Linked DNA regions of Homo sapiens: regions 1 and 3 are each linked to region 2. Evidence: promoter capture Hi-C in 16 types of primary human blood cells and fetal thymus (Javierre and others, 2016). All regions are on one chromosome and are shown on one strand. The core of a region is centred on a gene start or on the middle of the fragment in contact, and the rest is flanking DNA. Distances in the headings are between cores, read along the strand shown.

What was found. The method cuts DNA at HindIII sites, captures the fragments that hold promoters and counts their contacts. A CHiCAGO score of 5 or more calls a contact.
Region 1: a contact is called between a fragment that was not itself captured here and the fragment with the promoter of FAM114A2 in region 2, in 2 of 17 cell types (naive CD8 T cells and non-activated CD4 T cells). The highest score is 5.8, in naive CD8 T cells.
Region 3: a fragment that was not itself captured here is called in contact with the fragment with the promoter of FAM114A2 in region 2 in 2 of 17 cell types (non-activated CD4 T cells and naive CD8 T cells); the score reaches 7.2 in non-activated CD4 T cells.

What each region holds. Positions count from the first base shown.
Region 1 is chr5:157,860,053-157,863,330 of GRCh38, reverse strand. No RefSeq gene overlaps it. Among named protein-coding and RNA genes, the nearest start is that of CLINT1, 2.5 kb to the right of the region's middle. The HindIII fragment of the contact is 5,007 bases long and covers 1-3,278 here.
Region 2 is chr5:154,037,481-154,040,497 of GRCh38, reverse strand. FAM114A2 (family with sequence similarity 114 member A2) reads left to right here and starts at 1,588. Exons shown (of 14, transcript NM_018691.4): 1 at 1,588-1,641. MFAP3 (microfibril associated protein 3) reads right to left here and starts at 1,531. Exons shown (of 3, transcript NM_005927.5): 1 at 1,487-1,531. The HindIII fragment of the contact is 2,878 bases long and covers 531-3,017 here.
Region 3 is chr5:157,745,428-157,748,737 of GRCh38, reverse strand. The region is part of intron 1 of LSM11 (LSM11, U7 small nuclear RNA associated); the gene reads right to left. Among named protein-coding and RNA genes, the nearest start is that of LSM11, 3.4 kb to the right of the region's middle. The HindIII fragment of the contact is 899 bases long and covers 1,502-2,400 here.

The DNA of each region.
Region 1 (3,278 bases), core at 267-2,766, 3.8 Mb before region 2:
AATGTGGTTACAGCTGGGTGCAGTGGCTCACGCCTGTAATCCCAGCACTTTGGGAGGCCGAGGCAGGTGGACCACCTGAGGTCAGGAGTTCAAGACCAGCCTGGCCAACATGGTGAAACCCTGTCTCCACTAAAAATACAAAAAAAAAACTGGCCAGGAGCAGTGGCTCACACCTGTAATCCCAGCACTTTGGGAGGCCGAGGCGGGTGGATCACCTGAGGTCAGGAGTTCAAGACCAGCCTGACCAACATGGTGAAACCCTGTCTTTACTAAAGATACAAAAAACTAGCTGGGCTTGGTGGCAGATGCCTGTAATCCCAGCTACTCGGGAGGCTGAGACAGGAGAATTGCTTGAACCCAGGAGGCGGAGGTTGCAGTGAGCCAAGATTGCACCACTTCACTCCAGCCTGGGTGACAGAGCGAGACTCCATCTCAAAAAAAAAAAAAAAGAAAGAAAGAAACCAATATTCTGACCTCTGGAGATGAACAGTCAGGTGTGATCAAAAACAAGACTCGTGAGTCCAAATACTGAAACCAAGGTGCAAATGTTCACCTGCTGTGTCAGTTTGAGTACTACAGGAAACAGAAGCCAAGATGGAATTAGAAGTATAAGATATATTAGGGGAAATGCCTATGAAGGAAAAAGGGAAGCGAGAGCAAGAGCAGGTGGTAAGGGTCTGAGACCACAAGGAAGTTCTGACACCTGTCAAGGAAGAGAAGGAAGGAAGGAAGATTGGGTAGGAAGAGTATCTGATTGCAGCAAGGCTTTGAGGAAATCTGGGCCAAGTCGATGGGAAGCCCAGGTCAATGATTGCCCGGTGAAGGAGTCCAGCACTGGGCAGAAATGGCCTGGCTCCAGCACACCTTTCTCAGTCATTGCTGGGAATAGCCCTACAGAGAGTATGCCGTTGGCATAAATGATCCCAGAGGAAGACAGCAGGAAGCTGTCAGTCAACCACACTCCTTGCAACTGGTTCTCTTGAAAGTAGGTCTGAATGGTGCTTTTCCATGGCTGCCATACCCATGTACCATGAATTAAACTCCCCCAAGGGAACTCTAGGGAGGTGACCGCATGAAATAAGCAGTCAGTGTCCATTGTCTACACTGCTTCTCACAACACACATCATTAACATAACTGAGTATATATGTATATATATATTTTTTTTGAGATGAGTTTCGTATGCGATCTCAGCTCACTGCAACCTCCACCTCCCGGGTTCAAGCGATTCTCCTGCCTCAGCCCCCCGAGTAACTGGGATTACAGGCATGCGCCACCACGCCCAGCTAATTTTGTATTTTTAGTAGAGACAGGGTTTCTTCATATTGGTCAGGCTGGTCTCGAACTCCCGACCTCCGGTGATCCACCCACCTTGGCCTCTCAAAGTGCTGGGATTACAGGCGTGAGCCACCACATCCGGCCTTTTTTTTTTTTTTTTCCTTCAAAACGTGTGTTGGTTTGGCCTTACTAAAAGTGTCAGCTCATTTAGTAAAAAATATATGTTTTCCTGAAGAAGAGTGGGTGGAGCATTTTCTCATTTATTTTTCTACCATGAACATATTTGAATTGCCACAAAGAAGTTACTATGGAAACTGCTCTCGAACTTGCAAGATAAAAGGTAAAAATGGAACACTTTGTTGAAATGCAAATAGTCTCTGGAGATCACTTTTTAACAAAGTCTCCGGGTCTGATTTTTCTGAGTCCTTTAAAGGCTCTCTTGAATTAGAAGCGGACAGGCAGATTTTTTGGCTTTACATTCCAGATGGCTCCAGCTGACTGTGCAAATGTCACAGGTGACAACTCTAGGATGGGTCTAGACGTATGCAAACTTGGTTTTGGAATGAGCAAAGAGGCTGACAGTGCCCTGCTGTGAACACCCAAACAGGCCCAGGGGAGGGAAGGTGGTTGTTTCTGGGCCAGGCCCGTTCTGCAGGTGTACTCTGGACTCACTTGTTTGAAAGTTAACTTGCTGAGCTCTTATTTATGCAAAGTAGTTTCTCTTTCTTATCTCCTCTGGCCACATTCCATCTCTGGGATCTTGAGCTGGATAGTCTTTTCAACAAAAAAACACAAACTTCTTATTTGAAAGCCCTATTCCTCTACCCATCTCTGCTCATCTTTACCTGCCTCTCCCCACCCACCTCTCCAACTCACTTCATATCAGCCCAAGTACTCCTACCATTACAAAGCTCTGAGATAACTTTGGATTTCTGCTTGTTGTAATTTTCTGCCTGTCAATTCCTTCAACCTTGCTTCTTTCTCTTGGGGCCTCAATCCGAAAGCCTTACTGAAACTTTTTTCAAAGCTGCTTTCGGTAATTAAGTGAATGCAACTTGGAGAGGGTTTCCTGTAGTCTCAGCTACTTGAGAGACTGAGGTGGGAGGATTGCTTGAGCCCAGGAGTTTCAGATCAGCTGGGGCAACAGAGTGAGACCTCCAGCTCAAAAAAAAAAAAAAAGAAAAAGAAAAAGAAAATAGAAAAGAGGTGGTTTCACTTGAGGGACCAGGGTCCGAGGTTGTTTATTTGGGATTATTGTTACCTAGCTTCATGACTAGCAACCATCAATTTCACTTCTTTGTGAATTGGAGTCTTTATTTGATCCTTTCGAGGGATCCTTCCATTTCAACCTCCTAAGTAGCTGGCCTCACAAGAGTGTGCCCCAACGCCTGGCTTTTTTTTTTTTTTTTTTTTTTTTTTTAAAGACTGGGCTGGCAGGGGGATCTCACTTTGCTGCCCAGGCTGGTCTCAAACTCCTGGGCTCAAGTGATCCTCCTGCCTTGGCCTCCCAGCCTCCCAAAATGCTGGGATAACAGGCGTGAGCCACTGTGCCTGGCCTGTAATGAACTATTGTAGAACCTAAGATTGGCCTTTTAAGACGTCTTTTCAGGCTTTTGCATTTCTGACAAACGGATGACCCCACCCAGACCAGCCACTCCTCTGCTGGCCCTCCATCAAGAAGCCGATTCAGCAAAGGAGAACCATTTTCCATACTCCTCTGATTGCATCCCTAACCAATCAGCAGCACCCATGCCCTAACCCTCTGCTCACCAAACTATCTTTGAAAAACTCTAGCTTCCAAATGTTCAGGAAGATTGATTTGAGTAATAACTCTGTCTCTCAAGTGGCATGGCCAGCCTCATGTCAAACTCTTCACTGCAATGACTTGGTCGCAGTGAATTGACTTTATCTGTAAAGTGGGCAGAAAGAACCCGCTAAGCAATTACACTATATGCAATTATCTTAAATGTTTCCTTGATTATTATATGTTTCTTCCAATTAC
Region 2 (3,017 bases), core at 339-2,838:
CACTCACATTCTCACACAATATGGCACAATTTTCTAAAAGTTACATGATGATTGATATTGTAAGAGAATGAAGGTAGAAGTTACGAAAATCTAGCTGTCTTTTATTCAGCCAGACATTAAAGAGATTTGTAACAATGTAAAACAATGCCATTCTCAATAATTTTTCATTTTGGAAAATATCCTTTACAGAAATGCTATCTATGTTAACATATAATGAGTTTATTTTAAAATGAATAACCTTTGTTGAAAGTTGTTTTCTAAAATAGTAAATATTGATAGCTATTATAAACAAAAACCCTTTGAAGTTCTCAATACATTTTAAAAGTATAAAGAAATTCTAAGATCAAAAAGTTTGAGAACTGCTGCTATAATTATCAGCAGCATTTAAAAAATAAGTGGCTTCCCAAGATTCCATACTTTAGCCCCAAATTCTATGCATTTTCCATTACAACAGAAAATCAGAGGAAATGATCCATTTTATATTTAAGCAGGGGTTTTTTTGTTGTTGTTTTTTGGAATTTTAACAAGCTTCCAGGTGATATTGATGAACCTAAATTTAGAGAACCACTGTCAAAAGCAAAGGAAAATATCTGAAGAGTTTTAGAAGTGACAATTACTCTTATCTGGGAATTAAGATGATAATTCCGAGGGCATTAAATGGAGTTGGAAAACATGAGTTCTTAAAGGCTAAGTCCCTTCACCTCTCTGGGATTCAGTTTTTCTTATCTGTACAATAAGATTGATTTTAATATTTTACTAGCTCTGTCAGTCTGGATTTCATGCATTTTCACTGCTCGAGGGCAACAGAAGAGTTGCATCTTTCTGATGAGGTCCCAGGAGTAATCTTAGAGTCATAAATCAGATCATGTCATTCATCTGCTTAGAAACCTTCAATGGTTTTCCACTGGATTCCAAACAAAAATCAAACTCTTTATCCTTGCTCATAAGCCTTACAAGATTTGGGCTCAAGTCCCTGGCCTCATCTCTCTCCATTCTCACCTTGCTCCTTTTGCTCTAGCCAGTGGCCTTTGTCTTTTCCTTGACTTTGCTAAGTTTGTTCCCACTATATGGCCTTTGCACGCGCTATTCTCTCTGCCTGGAATGCTCTATTCCAGATTTTCATACGGCTTATTACTCTCCCACTTCGTTCCATCACATTATCCAGTCTAAATTTCTTTACAGCACTTACTACCACCTTAGATAATCCCGTTTGTTGACTTGTTTATAATCTGCTTTTCGCACTGCTTGAGAGCAGGGCCCTTCCGTTCGTTGACTGATGTGTCCCTGGAGCCCAGGGCAGTGCCTGGCAGGTATCTGGCTCTCAGTAAGTGTTCGATGACCGAACTCCCACACCCAGGCCAGACTTTCAAAAGAATGGCAAACATTTTCGCCTCCTGCACTCCCGACCCCAAGCCACAGGCTACGACTCACGCCTCGGCGCTCCTAGTAGTCCCCTCGCAGCGACCCCAACCAAGCCGTCACCTACCCGACCGCCGTCTAGCTCCTTCCGGCCTCAGCGGCGGCTTAACTCGGAAGTTTTCTCGGACACACCGGCACGCCTCTGCGCTGAAGGAGCACTTCCGGGGCAGTAGGAACGCCGAGTCGGCTGCCGTGGCTGTGCTGAGGGTGGCGGCCGGATAGGTGCGGAGCTTCCTGAACGAGGCAGGAGGGGTGCGAGGTTCAGGGGCAGGGCCCGGGCAGCCGAAGTCGTTAGGGAGGCGGTGACCTGACGGTGGGCGGCGGACATCTCGCGGCAGGGTCGAGGGCTGTGAAAGCGGTTTAGTGATTGAAGCGCTACGTTTGTGTGAGGAATTCTTGTCGTTGTCAGCGCCTGAGAACTTAGTTGGGAGCGGACGTTTACGTCGAATCTCTCGTTTGGGACCCCATTCTTGAATGTGGGAAGAAGTGAGAGCGCATGTTTGCTCATCTAGAGACAGCCGTATTAATAACGATAGGATACAAACCATCACCCCACCAAGTGATAGCAGCTGTTAACCTGTGGGCGGTTACGTGCCGGTCACTGTTCCAAGCCCCTCACATATCGCGTCACTGAATCTTTATAGGGACCCAGAACTCCATTTGACAGATGAGGAAACGGAGAGGCAGACAGGTGACCTGACTTCCCCACAATCGCTGCAGGACAGGAAGAAAGTAAACTCCAGAGCCCGTGCTCTTAGCTACTAAGCTGTACTGCTCTTCATTTTGGTAAATGGGGCGGGTGGAGTGTATATATACGTAATATATATGTGTGTGTGTAAGCGTATGCGTTTTTATTTCTTAAAAATATGGCTCAGCCGTATTTATTTACAGTTATTGGAATCTTTCTCCTCCAACTGAGAAAATAACTGGAGGAGAAACTACAATTATTTCTACACGCTTACTACACAATGCCTGGAAGACTTACAAAAACACTAAATAGTGCAGTTCCACGTACTTGGTGTTTATTCCTTTTTTTTTTTTAACCTTTCTCCTAGATTATGAATGAGTTGAGGAAAGAGATGGTACAGTCATTCTAATAACGATAGTAATGATAATATAAACAACCATCACCATAAAAAATTCTCTTCTGGCTTAGCTCAAATATCTGGCACAAATGAAAGAATAGAGATAACCAGTGTTTAATATTTTAGTAAAGGGACTGTTTTGGCAGGGCATGGTGGCTCACGCCTGTAATTTTAGCACTTTGGGAGGCTGAGGCAGGGGAAGATTGCTTGAGGCCAGGCCTAGGGTTCAAGACCAACCTGGCCAACATAGCGAGACCCTGTCTTTAAAAATATATTTTGGAGTATGTCCTTCCAGTCTTTCATGGAATTATATGAATTTATGTAATATGTATATTATATATTCTACATATAGTATACTGTATATATTTATGATGATGATAATGATGCGTTGCAACCTGGAGAGAGCATAAGGAAAAGATAGGAAACATTTATTCATATACACAAAACATTAATTGAACTTTGTGCAAAAACTGTCTCGTCTTTCCTATTAGATAGGCCCTTGGAGTGAATGGC
Region 3 (3,310 bases), core at 702-3,201, 3.7 Mb before region 2:
ATGCCCTTCTTTAAAGACCTAAAACTTGCCTCTTACAGTAACTCTTGTTTTCCTTAGAAAGAAATATTTAATAGGAATGTAGGAACAGAAGCCACGTCTGCGTCTCAGGTGGCGGCAAAACAAGATGGTGGATCCCCGTGCCATGACCCCCAGATGCAGGGCTTATATGCTACAGGGAAAGGGTGATTCAGAAGGGATGTGTAGGACAATTGAAGTAAGATAACGTCAAGGTTGTTCTCATGTAAGGACAGGAATTACAGTAAGTACATGCTCTTACACAAGAAACAACAGATAAATTGGAAATCTTAGAGGCCTTCCCAGAACTGGGTTTAATCAGAAGTCAACATGGTGGACTGGCATTCAAGATGGAGTTGCTTTAGCCTCCACAACTACCTATTCAAAGATTTAAGGACAAAACTGTATCTACATATATATCTCCAAATATACAAAGTTATTAGCTCATTAGGGCAAAGGCAGCTCCCCAGATTCCATAACCTATTAAGGGCCCAGAGAAATGAAACCACAAACTGTAACAGTCACCTTATGAGTCTGCAATGGAAAAATATTTTCTCTTTTCTCTGAAAATAGTTTTAGTTGCCATTCTATAGAAGGGTGCCATGACAGATTGAAAGTACAATGTTTGAATCAGTGACCCGGCAAAGGCACATCAGTGTCTTCCCTATTGTGATGCTATGTCAAACTGGCCTAAACACACACACACACACACACACACACACACACACAGCAGTGTGGTGCAGAAATCATCTGAGACTATTCCTTAGTTGCACTGGAGACAGCTGACTGGAAACAGCTGCAATGAGCTGAGAAAAGTGACAAGGCTGAATTTTAAGCTTGGCCTTTTCTGAAGCCTAAGTACCGCTGTTCTCGGTTTTATGTAAGTCATACTCATGCCCTTTTGGCAACCTCTGTGTAACAGAGATGCTGTTCAAATTTGAGAGTTCATTTTACTGCTGTACACAGGGCTCAGATGTTCTTGATTTTGCCTATTTTCTTGCTCTTTATTTGCAGGAAGTGAAGTCAAAGTTATCCAAAGAATATCACTTTATTAAAATGAAAACATCAAGACACCATATTGTGGGAAATTATTTCAGCAATCAAAGTAAACTACAACAACAGGACTCAAACAAATTTTCAATCATGGTATCACGTCAGAGGCCCAATAAATCAGGTTTGTTTTGAAATCCTTCTCAGCAGGATGTGTGCGAGTAAAAGGACTGTGTAGGCTCCCTGCAGGAAAACTGAATTTGGAACTGGAGACAAGCCATTCACCTAGACAATGGTCTAGGAGCCAAACCCTGCATGTCATATGCATTTTGGATTGACCACACACACTTGTTCACACCGGCACAGGCTGCACACCAACACACCTGTAGCTAAAACAAAGTAATGATAACACTTTTTCTTACAGCTTTATAATGTCAAGACGTGAGCTTGAACACACCAGTTCATTTCACAGTGACAGATATACCTAGAAAAAGCTTGCTTGAAGCACAATTATAAACCAGAACCACCGTGGGCTAGGTATGGTGCTGCGATACTAAGGAGAAATATAGACACTAGAATTATGTGGAAAAGAGGATAATGCTCTTTAGTCTTGTCTTACCATCTCTATAGGCATGTCAATATTAAAAAGGAGGAAAAGCAATTGCATTCCACTTGCAAGTACAGCTTGTGTGTGAGTTCTTTGTTGGTATCAGTGATGGCTTAGGCTTAATGATGACGAAAAACCTTTCCTCCTATGCTTTTTTTCTTCTTTAGTATTCCCAGTATTGCAACAGCCTCCTATACTTTTATTATTACTTTTTTTTGAGACCTCGTATCACCTCTGTAGAGGTCTCTATGATGTCCCTATGATCTCGGCTCACTGCAGCTTCCACTTACAGGGTTCAAGCGATTCTCGTGCCTCATCCTCCTGAACAGCTGGAACTAGAGGCAGATGCTGCCATGCCCAACTAATTTTTGTATTTTTAGTAGAGACAGGGTTTCACCACGTTGGCCAGGCTGGTCTTGAACTCCTGGCCTCAAGTGTTCTGCCCGCCTCGGCCTCCCAAAGTGCTGGGATTACAGGTGTGAGCCACTGTGCCTGGCTACTTTTAAAATTTTATTACTGCAAGGAAAAGAATACAACTGCTCCACAAGGGAATTCAAAGAGATTCTATGACAGAGATACAAAGTGAAATATTTTACAGTTAAAACACCATTACACTTAATTTTGCACTCCTTGTTTTTTCATAAACATTCCACACTGTCCTCTCTGTGAATTTGGATGGGTAACTTGGATCTGAATTGATGAAATACATCATTTTAAAGTCAGCGACAAAATGTAGCTCCTCATGTATTCTTCATTATGTTTCACTGATGATATGACCTAACAAAGCTTCTTCTTGCTGTTACAGCCTGATGGAACTTACATTTTATGTGAATATTTTGCAAAGGATTATGCATTCTCAAATGCATAGGCATTTTTTTCCAGAAAGCATTTGTATATGTCCACAAATAGTATTATCTTACTGGTATCTATATTTTGATTTTCCTGAGCAACTGTATCCAATCAGAGTTTAGAGTAGGCATATATTTTTTTAAATTAAAACTGTGGCATACATATAAAACATACCTAGTTCTTTTTTTTCCCCCCTTCCAACTTTTGTTTTTGGATCAGGAGGTACACGAAAGGTTTGTTGCAGGTGTAAATCGTGTGTCACTGGGGTTTGGTGCACAAATTATTTTGTCACCCAGGTAGTGATCACAGTACCCAATAGGTAGTTTTGTGATTCTCACCCTCCTCCCACCCTTCACCCTCAAGTAGGAACTCTTTCTTGAATGAATCCAATCCTCACCCATGTTTCTGTTGTTTTCTTGCTTTCTGAAGGTCATCAACTCTGTGCGACGTCAATGCCTTTCTCTCATGTACACTCAACTGTCTGCAGTGCCATGGTGAAAATTTTCAGTATGTAGGGCATATTCTCTGAGATCTTGATTCCAGGGATATATACTTAATCATAAGAAGTTGACAAAGCTGGTCTTCACACACTGTCATACCATTACAGTAAAGTGCTCTATAGGGAAAGCTAAAACCACCCACCACATAGCAATACACAGGAATATTCCTTTCCCTTGACAATCTTGGTAGCAAAGCAATAACTGGTAAAATAGAAATAAATGTTGCAATGAGACTTGGAGTGCATTTCAACTACCTAATGGTGGCAAATTGCATAGGCAAATTAAGGTCCCCCAAACTGCTCTCATTTTGGGAACAAGCATACTGTCTTTGTGTTACAGCCAGGCAAGC